2 separate regions of the Homo sapiens genome follow, and region 1 is linked to region 2. Evidence: promoter capture Hi-C in human tissues and cell types (Jung and others, 2019). All regions are on one chromosome and are shown on one strand. Each heading gives the region's core, a stretch centred on a gene start or on the middle of the fragment in contact. The rest is flanking DNA. Distances are from core to core; before and after follow the strand shown. Region 1 overlaps CLIP1 (CAP-Gly domain containing linker protein 1). Region 2 holds the start of IL31 (interleukin 31).

Region 1 (6,356 bases), core at 1,885-4,384, 170 kb after region 2:
TTTTTCTCTTTCTTTCTGACACAGGGTCTCCCCTGTCACCCAGGCTAGAGTGCAGTGGTGTGATCATGGCTCACTGCAGCCTTAGAACTCCTGAGTTCAAGTGATCTTCCAGCACCAGCCTCCTAAGCAGCGGAGATTACAGGCACGTGCCACTACAGCTAATGTTTAAAAAATTTTTTTACAGATGGGGTCTCTGGCTGGGCTCGGTGGCTAATGCCTGTAATCCCAACACTTTGGGAGGCTGAGGCAAGTGGATCATTTGAGGTCAGGAGTTCAACACCAGCCTGGCCAATATGGTGAAACCCTATCTCTACTAAAAATACAAAAATTAACTGGGCATGGTGGCACGCTCCTGTAATCCCGCTACTTGGGAGGCTGAGGCAGAAGAATCGCTTGAGCCTGGGAGGCGGAGGTTGGGTGAGCCGAGACCAGACCACTGCACTCCAGTCTGGGTGACACAGTGGGACTCTGCCTCAAAAAAAAAAAAAAAAGAAAGAAAAGAGAGATGGGGTCTCACCATGCTGCCCAGGCTGGTCTCAAACTCCTAGACCCAAGCAATCCTCTTATTTTGGACTCTCAAAGTGCTGGGATTAGAGGCATGAGCCACTGTGCCCAGAGACTATTTTTAAATAGTCAAAATAGACTATTTTTCTATACTTCATTGTAACTTGGAGTATCAGCATGATCTAAAGCAGAAGGTGTGGATGCTTACTTTCTAAATGAGCTACTTGAGCAATTTCATTTCCTAGACTTTAAAAACCTTGGCTGGTCACGGTGGCTCACGCCTGTAATCCCAGCACTTTGGGAGGCAGAGGTGGGCGGATCACGAAGTCAGGAGATCGAGGCCATCCTGGCCAACATGGTGAAACCCCATCTCTACTAAAAATATAAAAAATTAGCCAGGCGTGGTGGCACGCACCTGTAGTCCCAGCTACTCAGGAGGCTGAGGCAGGAGAATCGCTTGAACCTGGGAGGTGGAGGCTACAGTGAGCCGAGATCATGCCACTGCACTCCAGCCTGGGCCACAGAGCGAGACTCTGTCTCAAAAAAAAAAAAAACAAAACCAAAACCAAAAAACCTTAAGGCCAGGCACAGTGGCTCACACCTGTTATCCCAGCACATTGGGAGGCCGAGGTCAGCAGATCTCAGCTGAGGTCAGGAGTTCAAGACCAGCCCGGCCAACGTGGTGAAATCCTGTCTCTACTAAAAATACAAAAATTAGCCAGGCGTGGTGGCACACACCTGTGATCCCAGCTACTGGGGAAGCTGAAGCAGGAGAATCCCTTGAGCCTGGGAGGCGGAGGCTGCAGTGAGGGTGACAGAACGAGACTCTGTCTTAAAAAATAAATAAATAAAAACAAAAACCTTAAGATGCGAATATATGTGGTCTACATTATTTTCTCTATTTGTGTATATGCTTAAAGTAGTTTGACATTTAAATAAAATTTAAAAATCCACTGGACAGGCAAGGTGCAGTGGCTGAAGCCTATAATCCCAGCACTTTGGGAGGCCGAGGTCAGTGGATCACTTGAGGTCAGGAGTTCGAGACCACCCTGGCCAACATGGTGAAACCCTCTCTCTATTAAAAATACAAAAATGAGCCAGGCATGATGGCGGGCGCCTGTAATCCTGGCTACTCGGGAGGCTGAGGCAGGAGAATCGCTTGAACCTGGGAGGTGGAGGTTGCAGTGACTCGAGATTGTGCCACTGCACTCCAGCCTGCGCAACAGAGTGAGACTGTCTCAAAAAAACAGAACAAAACAAAACAAAAAAATCCACTGGACAATAGTCATTAGAACTTGGCTTTCATGAAATCTTGATGTTAAAAAGTAAACTAGCATTAGCTAAATATTATCTTCTAATTAATTTTTGTGTTTTGATTAGTATTTCGGAACCACATGAGGAGATTTGAGAAAAATTTCCTGTAACCAGTTTGTCATCTTCGACTATGGTTAGTTAGCAATTTTTTGCTGTTTGTCAGTCCTCACCTCACCCCATTTAACCATCACAACCCTTCCTTCTTTGCCAATAGAGCAGCTTCTCCCACAAAAAAGTTCAGAACATTGAGCATCAATACCAGTGCCTCAACTAGTGGCAGGACTGGGAAACAATTCCTCGAACCACCTTTAAAGATAAAGATGACATTTAACAAGGCTAGTTAGTAAGGAATGCAGCTGGCGAATGTTTCACGTAATTTCCTAAGCCTTGACCACATGCACACTTGTTCAGTATTTCCCCCAGAAAAGGAGGGGACAGATCATGTTCTCATTATGCCACAGAAAAAAACTCCAATGAGATTTCTGCCATGCAAAGGGCTCCAAGCTCTTACCCTTAATTTTGCTGTGAATGTTATTTATCACAGCATGGGTTTTTTTTTGTTTTTTGGAGATGGAGTCTTGCTCTGTCGCCCAGGATGGGGTACAGTGGCACGATCTCAGCTCACTGCCACCTCCACCTCCCGGGTTCAAGCAATTCTTGTGCCTCAGCCTCCTGAGTAGCTGGGACTACAGACGCACACCACCACACCTGGCTAATTTTTGTATTTTTAGTAGACAGGGGCCAGGCTGGACTCAAACTCCTGACCTCAACTGATCCGCCTGCCTCAGCCTCCCAAAGCACTGGGATTACAGGCATGAGCCACCTTGCCCGGCCAACATGTTAATTTATAATAGTCAAGAAGCACTGAATTCAGTCTGTTTTTATACATAACCCTATAGATAAGCAATTACAGTCATGCATTGCTTAAGAACCAGGATATCTTATGAGAAATGCATCATTAGGCATTTCATTGTTGTGGGGACATCACAGGGTGCACTTACACACACCTAGAAGGTATAGTCTACTACACACCTGGGCTACGTGGCACAGCCTATTGTTCCTATACTATAAACCTGTATAAAATGTTACTGTACTGAATGTTGTAGGCAACTGTAACACAATGCTAAGTATTTGTGTATCAAAGCATATTTAAACATACAAAAGGTAAAGATACCATATTACAATCTTATGGAACCGCCTTTGTTTATGTGGTCCATTGTTGATTGAAACATCATTATGTGGCACCTGACTATATGTGGTTAGAAGAGGAGGAGATGATCTTTTAAGCTTTTTTTTTTTTTTTCCTTTAGACAGAGTCTTGCTCTGTCTCCCAGGCTGGAGTGCAGTGGAATAATCTCAGGTCACTGCAACCTCCGCCTCCCGGGTTGTTCAAGTGATTCTCCTGCCTCAGCCTCCTGGGTAGCTGGGATTACAGGTGTCCGCCACCATGCCAGGCTAATTTTGTATTTTTAGTAGAGATGGGGTTTCACTATGTTGGCCAGGCTGATCTCGAACTCCTGACCTCAGGTGATCACCTGCCTCAGCCTCCCAAAGTGCTGGGATTACAGGCGTGAGCCACTGCGCCTGGCCGATCTTTTGAGTTTCTGTTCATTCATTCATCTTAACACCATAGTGTTAGGGCATTCTTTATTTTAAACAGATTATAGACTGGAGCTAAGCTTAAATTAGAAGTCACAGCATAGCCCAGAGATAAATAGATCAGGTACCCAGATAACAGGCAACCAAAATAAATTCACATGGTTGAGCCATTATTTTCTCTAATCTCCTCAGATGAAACCATACTTGAGATACTCAGAACATACTACACTATACTCAACTGGGGACATCAAGCAATTTAATTAAATCAGCAATTTGGAAGATGAATGATCTCAACTCAAAAGTAACATAATGCAAAACAAGAATAACAAATGGAAAAGAAAAGAATGGAGGATGTCAATACAAACCTTGCTACTTTCAGCATTCTTTTCAATCTCTAAATGTTTAATCTGTTTCTCAGCTGCCTCAAGCTGCTGTCTAAGTTTCTTCATTTCCGATTTACCTTCGGAACTGGCTTTCCGAAGTGCATCAAGATCCAAGAGCTTTTCTTCAGTAGCCTTGAGCTGTGATGTAAAATTATCAATAACCTTGGTTTGTTCATTGCATTTGGCTTGCAGTACCTCTAGCTCCTTTACCTTTATTTCAGCTTCCTGTAATTTGTTTAACGTGTCTTCCATTTCTACGAGATGCTGGTCTTCTGCTTTGTCCAGTTTCGACCTGATGGCTTCCAGACTGTTTTCCTTTTCTTTAATAACTTTCATCAGTTTAGCCCTCAAGGCTTCCATCTCTTTAGCATGGGCAGCCCGTTCAGAGTCTTGTTGATTCTGCAAATTTTCTATTTCGTGTTGGTAATCTAGTCTCATTTTCTCTATTTGTGTTTTTAGTTCAGCAAATTCTGCCGTCTCTGTTCCAAGCCCTTTGCTGAAAGATACCTTCAGTTCTTCCATCGCCTGCTGGTGGGATGCGATGGCAGTCTCCAGTTTGGACTTCCATAGAGCTATCACATCTGAGTTCTCTTTGTTGGCATGCTCCAGCTTGCTTTTCAATGACTCGTTCTCTTTGGAAAGCTTTTCCGTGGCGGTATACAGAGCCTTTATCTCCTTCTGATGAGTTTCTTCCCGGGCTCCAAAATGCTCCTTCAGAGAAGTTATTTCTCTCTGGTGGTCAGTACGGGTGACTTCTAACTTTTCTTGCAAAGAGCTTATCTCTTGCAAAAGGGAAAGTGACATGTCCACATCCCCAGCAGGCTTATTGGACTCTAGCCTTCTTCGGAGCTCAGCTACTTCCTGTACTCTCAATGCTAGGTCTTTCTCCAGTTCCATTATACGTGACTTTTCTGAAACTGTAGCCACCTATTAACAGCAGTCCAAAGAAAAAAAGATCATTTAAATAACAAGTCATTGACTATTTTCTTTTCTTTTTTTTTTTTTTTTTTTTTTTTTTTTTTTTTTTTTTGAGATGGAGTTTCGCTCTTCTTACCCAGGCTGGAGTACAATGGTGCGATCTCAGCTCACTGCAACCTCCACCTCCTGGGTTCAGGCGATTCTCCTGCCTCAGCCTCCTGAGTAGCTAGGATTACAGGCATGCGCCACCACACCCAGCTAATTTTTGCATTTTTAGTAGAGATGGGGTTTCACCATGTTGGTTAGGCTGGTCTCAAACTCCTGACCTCAGGTGATCCACTCGCCCCGGCCTCCCAAAGTGCTGGGATTACAGGCATGAGCCACTGCACCTGGCCTGATTATTTTCTTTAACACTGAAGATATTTAATAACTACCCCATCTCAGGCAGCAAACTATTATGAACGTTTATAGGTTAATATATATTTCTAACTGTGATAATGGCTTAAGTCCAACTTTAGTATCTCCAATTCTAAAGAAGCTTAAATCAGATAAATATCCATTAACTGATAAGTTAACAGAAACAGTAACTTTCAAAGTTCACAGATATAACTGCCTCCTGAAAGAAAACATTTCCTTATTTTGCCAGTTTGTCCTACCCCACTTCATCCAGGTTGCATAAATGCTTATCCATTTCATGGAGGTGATCTTATAGAACTGTGCCATCCGGAACAGTAGCTGTTGGCCACACGTGGCTATTGAGCACTTGAGATGTGGCTCATCTGAAGTGAGGTGTGGTATAAGTGCAAAATACACATCAGATTTTGAAGACTTAGAAGAAAAGGATCACAAAATGTCTTGTGGGCCAAGTGCAGTGGCTCACGCCTGTAATCCCACCACTTTGGGAGGCCGAGGCAGAAGGATCACTTGAGGCCAGGAGTTCAAGATCAGTCTCGGCAACACAGCAAGACCCCGTCTTTGCAAAAAATAAAAAATTAGCCAGGCATGGTGGTGTCGCCTGTGGTAACAGGTACTTGGGAGGCTAAGACGGGAGGATTGCTTGAGTCTAGGAGGTTGAGGCTATAGTGAGTAATTGTGCCATTGTACTCCAGCCTGGGAGACAGAGCACGACTCTGTCTCTAAAAAAAAAAAAAAACAAACTGAAATTATATTTTAAAATGTTTAAAATATCTTAATAATTTTATTTTGATTAATATTTTGAATATATCAGTTACATAAAATATATTATTAAAACTAATTTAACTTGTGACTTACAAAAAAGTAATGTGGGTACCAGAAAATTATAAATTGTACATGTGTGGCTTACATTATACTTCTATTGGACAGCACTTGCATAAAAGGTCTAAAATTACCTATCAAATGTTTCAATGAATAACACATCACCTGTAGAATGAAAGCCTCAATTGAAGAATGAAGAATTAATTTACTAAACTTTTTTTTTTTTTTTTTTTGAGATGGAGTTTTGCTTTCGTTGCCCAGTGCAATGGCGCGATCCCAGCTCACTGCAACCTCCACCTCCCAGGTTCAAGCGATTCTCCTGCCTCAGCCTTCCAAGTAGCTGGGATTACAGGCATGTGCCACCAGACCTGGCTAATTTTGCATTTTTAGTAGAGACGGGGT
Region 2 (6,353 bases), core at 2,303-4,802:
AAATACCTGTGAGAATAAAAATGAGAAGTCCAAGACTGAAGTGCGTGTCTCAGAGTCCTAACCACATCCCTCCTTACATATGGACTTGTGCAAACCACACCTCTTCGGTCCTCAGTTTCCCCCGAGATAAGATGAATATATAGGTGCTGGTAGACTCAAGATTAGTGGTTCTCAAACTTGAGGGTGTATTAGAATCCCCTGGAGGGCCCCATAAAGCCCAGATTTCTGTCTCCACCCACAGACCTTCCGATTCAGTAGGTCTGGGGTGAGACCCAATGATTGACATTTCTAAAATGTTGCCACGGGCTGCTGCTGCTGCTGCTGGGCCAGGGACCACGTTTTGAGTCCGGGTGATCTCTAAGAAGCCTTAACAGTTGTGGACTTAACATTGATTCAAATGACAAAATCTTTGGACCTGGCTAGGAAGAAGTCCCCTAGGCCCTGAAAACCCAGTGGGGAGTTGTGCAGAGGACACTGTAAGATTGCTGCATGCCGCGCCTGGCATTGACAGCCTGTGAGGCCCAACCACTGCCCGGGGAGGGTCAAAGCCTGAGTAAGGCAGAGAAGCTCAGGCTGGAAACTGGGCTCCACCCCTTAACAGCTGTGTGGCCTTGAGCAAGTGACTGACTGACTTCCTGCCTCAGTTTCCCTACCTATGAAAAGAGGATGGTGCTTAACATGACCTGGCATAAAGAAAATGCTCAATGAGTGTTTATTGCTGCTGAGGTCTTGCTTTGTCTCTGGAGTGAGTGGTGCTGTCCTAGCTCACTGCAGCCTCGAACTCCTGGGCTCAAGCAATCCTCCCACCTCAGCCTCCCAAGTAGCACACCACCATGTCTGGCTAATTTTTTTGTTTTGTTTTGGGTTGGTTTTTTTAGAGATGGGATCTTGCTATGTTGCCCAGGCTGGTCCGAAACTCTGGCCCCAAGCAGTCCTCCAGCCTTAGCTTCCCAAAGTGCTGGGATATCTGATCTGTGTTACAACCCTATGAGGCTGTGGCCATCACCATCGCCATTTCCAGACGAAACTAGCCACCGTGTACCACCAGGGTCATTATTTCTTTTCTCTTTCTTTTTTTTAAATAGAGATGGGGTCTCACTATGTTGCCCAGGCTGGTCTGGAACTCCTGGGCTCAAGTGATCCTCCTGCCTTTATCTCCCAAAGTGCTGGGATTGCAGGTGTGAGCCACAGTGCCTGGCTCAGGGTCATTATTTTTTATTGAGCCCGTCCAGTGGGAAGAAATGACAGTGGTAGAAGCGATACCTCTTTCTAGAGCATGTCCATCTGCCCTCTGCCACAACTCTACCCAGCTTGGAGTCCCATTTGCCAATGTCAAGCCCCTCACAAAATGTGTCACAGATTATGAGAAAAATTCAATATAATTTATTAAATAGATTCCGAGGGCTCCCCCAGGGAGCATTGACAACTCTTAGTACAATAAATATCAATAAATTAACATAGCTGCCACCTCCCACCCTCACGAGGGTATAATAAGTAAGACTTAAGCCTGCAGAAGAAAAGCATTCCATAAATACCAAGACTAATAACAATAACCTAATGTTTTTCAAGGTAATTCACAAATTCACATCTCAGCCCTCCCGGGACTAGCCCATATGAGGGGTCCCTGAGATTATTCATTGGAAAAATGTACTTAAGGAATCACGGCAGAGTTCCCACACTTAGCTGTCGGTCATCTTTTTAAGGCTCCTTAAGTTCCTGCCAATCCGAAAGGAAGAGATGGCCTTAAGTGGTGGCCTGTTGGGCTCCAGAGGTCAATGATTTTAGTGCGAGGTCCATGCACTCTGAAAACTGTTGAGAAATAGTCAGGATGAAGCGTTTACATTCATGGGTGTCTGTTGGCACAGAAATGTTTGTTTCTGGTGCATCTTGAAATATGAGTTTGTCGAGGTGCTCTATGATCTCATCAATAACAGATTTGTTGTCTAGCTGTCTGATTGTCTTGAGATATGCCCGGATGGCTGGGCTGTGGATGTTGTTTGGCGGCTGGGCGTCAGGGCTGAGACACGGCAGCGTGTAATTCTGGGACACGAGCACGCCCTTCTCTTCCTCCACCTGTGGAATGAGGAGAAATGGTCAGTGTTGGGTTTGCAATGACAGCTGCAAGTCTTAACAGTGAATGTTTGCATGCTTCCTCCGTAACCCGCCTCGTTGATATATTTATCTGATCAATGTCACAACCCTATGAGGCTGTGCCATCACCAACCCCATTTCCAGATGAAACTAGAGCTTAGGTGGCTGCAGTCCTGAAGCCTGTGCTCAGAACCACTGATCCATCCAGCTGAGGCCTCCCAGCCTTCCAGAACCCACTCTCACGTGCTCAGGGTGGTGGGAATTGCAGCACATCTGGCCTTCCATGGCAGCTCCCCGCCCTTTGGGACTCTGTGTTAAAGCCACGCACGCTCCACTTATAAAGGAGAGTGTTAGGCTTGTCCGGAAAGGCCTCCGAGATGCAGGCGAGAGTTTTCCCCAACAAACCAAGGAGTCCGGACCACTCCCTCCCTTCCTCTTTCTAAGTACTAACTAGAGTCAGACCAAATTGCCAGCAGCACCTCATCAACCTGAACTGCCCAGTCATCTTGGGTTGGTAACAACCTCTGCCTTTTATAAAAGCCAAGGCTAAGGTCTAAATACCAAGGCAGATGAGAAGAGTAATGCCAATTTTATGAATTGTTTCCAAGTTTGGGCATTTGTTTGTTTGATCAAAGCTATCTTGGCTGGGCACAGTGGCTCACGCCTGTAATCCCAGCACTTTGGGAGGCCAAGGCAGGCGGATCACTTGAGGTCAGGAGTTCAAGACCAGCCTGGCCAACGTGGAGAAACTCTGTCTCTACTAAAAATATGAAAATTAGCTGGGCGTGGTGGCGCATGCCTGTAGTCCCAGCTACTCGGGAGGCTGAGGCAGGAGAATCGCTTGAACCCAGGAAGCAGAGGTTGCAGTGAGCCAAGATTGCACCACTGCACTCCAGCCTGGGTGACAGAGTAAGACTCTGTCTCAAAAAAAAAAAAAAAGCCATCTTTGCCTGTCTAGTTTCCCCCATCCCTTCCTGGCATAGCTACAGCCCTGGTTTCAGGTCCGGAGAGAGGAGCCTCTTTGGAGGGCAATGGAAGGCATTTTTAAGAAATCGTTTAGAAAAGAAATCTCTAGGACACTCACATCTTTCAAAAGCATCTTCGAGAGGGACTGTAATTCCTCGACTATTTTCTGTACATCATCACTTGGTCGTAGTAAACGGACGGGCAACGTGTGGGAGGCCAGCCAGCCTCCCAGGCAGCAGAACAGAAAGAGCACAGACGTCGAGGGGCCTGGAGAGAGAACGATGCCGTGAGCGCATACATCACACACCCCTGCCCACCCTGGCTCCATCCCTGCAGCCCTGCTGAGCCAACCCTGGGGGTAGTGCTTCCAGAATCTTCCTGGTGAGATAAGATGATGCCCAAGACTCCGGAAGCACCAGGACCAGTGATACCTGAGTGAGAGGCCATGGCGAGAGAGAGCAAGGCCAGCTTCAGTGGGGGCTTCTGGAGCCAGATGTGTTCGCCATGGCTGCCTGGAGGTATATAAAGGGCCAGGGTGAGGAGAAAGAGCAGTCAGCGTCCCGCCCATGGCAAAACCATTTACTCAGCTTTTCTCCAGAAAACACTCAAAAGTTCTACTGGCCACGGCTGAGTGAAAGGGCTGAATGGAAATGCTGAGGTTACCCTCCAGGTGGGCAGATGCCTGACTCAGACACACACATACTTCACAAGAAGGCACATGAATGCATCTTTGCCATTCTTCTTGGAAGGAGCCTGTTGATTTGACTAGACAAAATTTTGAAGCCCAGGGTTGACAGACACGACCATACCACCAAGGAGCGGGTGACTTCCAGGAGTTCAAGGCCAGCGGCCACAGGGAATTTCTGGGGAGGAAATGCGAAGCCGGCATGAGATGTGCAGAATGCGGTATCTCTGGAAATTTCTGCAGCATATGCCCACGCCGGTGTGCAGGGACGGCCCCATAACTGCTGTGAATGTGGCGGGTCGAAGGCTTCATCTCAACTCCATGTGGCCTTGGACATCACTGGACTCTCCATCGTGCCTCTGCAATCTCAGGGCCCAGAACCAGAGACTGTGATCCAGAGTTATTGCTTGAAATCCTTGTTCATATCTTTTTTCTTTTTTTTTTTTTTGAGATGGAGTCTTGCTCTGTCACCCAGGCTGGAGTGCGGTGGCGTGATCACTGCAACCTCTGTCTCCTGGGCTCAAGCAATTCTCATGCCTCAGTCTCAGCCTCCCAAGTAGCTGGGACTACAGGCACGTGCCACCATGCCCAGCTAATTTTTGTATTTTTAGTAGAAATGGGGTTTCGCCATGTTGGTCAAGCTGGTCTCTAACTCCTGACCTCAGGTGATCTGCCTGCCTCGGCTTCCCAAAGTGCTGGAATTACAGGCATGAGCCACTGCGCCAGCCTAGAAACTTTATTGCTTTTCTTTCTTTCTTTCTTTCTTTCTTTTTTTTTGAGACAGAGTCTTGCTCTGTCGCCTGGGCTGGAGTGCAGTAGCGCAATCTCGGCTCACTGCAACCTCCACTTCCCAGGTTCAAGCAATTCTCTTGCCTCAGCCTCCTGAGTGGCTGGGATTACAGGCGCCCACCACCACGCACAGCTAATTTTTGTATTTTTAGTAGAGACGGGGTTCACTATGTTGGCCAGGCTGGTCTCAAACGCCTGACCTTGTGATCCACCTGCCTCCGCCTCTCAAAGTGCTGGGATTACAGGTGCGAGCCACCACTCTGGCCTTAGAAACTATTTCTAAGTTCATTAGCTTTCTTTTTCTTTCTTTTTTTTTTTTTTTGAGACAGGGTCTCATTCTGTCACCCAGGCCAGAGTGCAGTGGCATCATCACAACTCACGGCAGCCCCGATCCCCTGGGCTCAAGTGATCCTCCTACCTCAGCCTCCCAAATAGCTGGGACCACAGGCACAAATCACTATGCTAATTTTTTTTTTTCTTTTTTGAGACAGAGTTTCGCTCTTGTTGCCCAGGCTGGAGTGCAATAGCACGATCTCGGCTCACTGCAACCTCCGCCTCCTGGGTTCAAGCGATTCTCCTGCCTTAGCCTCCCGAGAAGCTGGGATTACAGGCACCCACCACCACGCCGGGCTAATTTTTGTATTTTTAGTAGAGACGGGGTTTCACCATGTTGGCCAGGCTGGCCTCTATCTCCTGACCTCAGGTGATCTGCCCGCCTCAGATTCCCAAACTGCTGGGATTATAGGCATGAGCGACTGCACCCGGCCTCCTTATTCATATTTTAGTGCCAGCTTTGATCAGGCCATTTTATAGGGTATCGGGAATAGCGGTGAAGAAGTTAGAGTTCCTGCCCTTGTGGGCCCGTCATTGCTGTGGGCTGCGGACAATAGCAACAACATTCATAAATAAGCTAGAAAGCACTGTGACGGTTGGAGAGTGACGGGCAGGATACTTTAAGTCAGGTGATCAGCAAAAGTCTCTCTGAGAGGTGACATTGAAGAAGAGACTGAAAGACAAGAAGGAGCCAGTTGTGGGAAGACCTGGGAGAAGAGTGTTCCAAGGCAACGGGACAGGAGTGCAAAATCCTCAGGTGAAAATGAGCTCGATGCTGTTCCTAGAACGGGAAGAGGGTCATGGCAGCCACAGTGACGCGAGAGGACAGGAGGGTAGTGGGGAGGTGGGCAGCGGCTCCATCACAGAGGCCTGAGGCTGGGACAAAGAGCCTGGGTTTTATTCCACATGTGACGAGGCAGTGCTGGGCGGCTTTCAGTAGGGAAACATAAGATCAGATGCACTTTATTTTTTTCTTTTCTTAATTGTTTTGTCTTTTGTTTTGTTTTTTTTTTTGGAGAGAAGATCTCAAGCGATCCTCCCACCTTGGCTTCCCAAAGTTCTGGGATTACAGGCATGAGTCACCATGCCTAGCCCTGATGAACTTTATTTATTAGTAGTAGTAGCATTTTTTTTTTTCTTAAGACAGAGTCTCACTTTGTCGCACAGGCAGGAGTGAAGTGGCGCAATCTCAGCTCACTGCAACCTCCACCTCCCCTGTTCAAGCAATTCTCGTGCCTCAGCCTCCTGAGTAGCTGGGATCACAGGCATGTACCACCATGCCTGGCTAATTCTTGTATTTTTAGTAGAGATGGAGTTTCACCATGTTGGGATGAGGTCAGTCTGGGCAGCCCACAGAACTCAAGGTGCACAGAGGGGACACAGCCAGGAAGCCCTCCCACCCATCATCCCAAGTCCCCCTGCCGCCAGCCACCACTGACTTTTTCTTTACTTCCCAAACTGCCACAATATGGCTTTCACCACCCCACTA

What was found. Contacts are between HindIII fragments. The study calls those that stand out against the background at their distance.
Region 1: a contact is called between a fragment that was not itself captured here and the fragment with the promoter of IL31 in region 2, in 2 of the 25 tissues and cell types used here (dorsolateral prefrontal cortex and pancreas).

What each region holds. Positions count from the first base shown.
Region 1 is chr12:122,336,971-122,343,326 of GRCh38, forward strand. CLIP1 (CAP-Gly domain containing linker protein 1) reads right to left here. Exons shown (of 26, transcript NM_001247997.2): 11 at 3,783-4,727. Among named protein-coding and RNA genes, the nearest start is that of CLIP1-AS1, 55 kb to the right of the region's middle. The HindIII fragment of the contact is 3,429 bases long and covers 1,421-4,849 here.
Region 2 is chr12:122,170,669-122,177,021 of GRCh38, forward strand. IL31 (interleukin 31) reads right to left here and starts at 3,553. Exons shown (of 3, transcript NM_001014336.2): 1 at 3,489-3,553; 2 at 3,176-3,324; 3 at 1,361-2,073. The coding sequence starts at 3,504. The coding sequence ends at 1,744. It also overlaps a transcript of LRRC43 not described here. The HindIII fragment of the contact is 15,918 bases long and covers 1-6,353 here.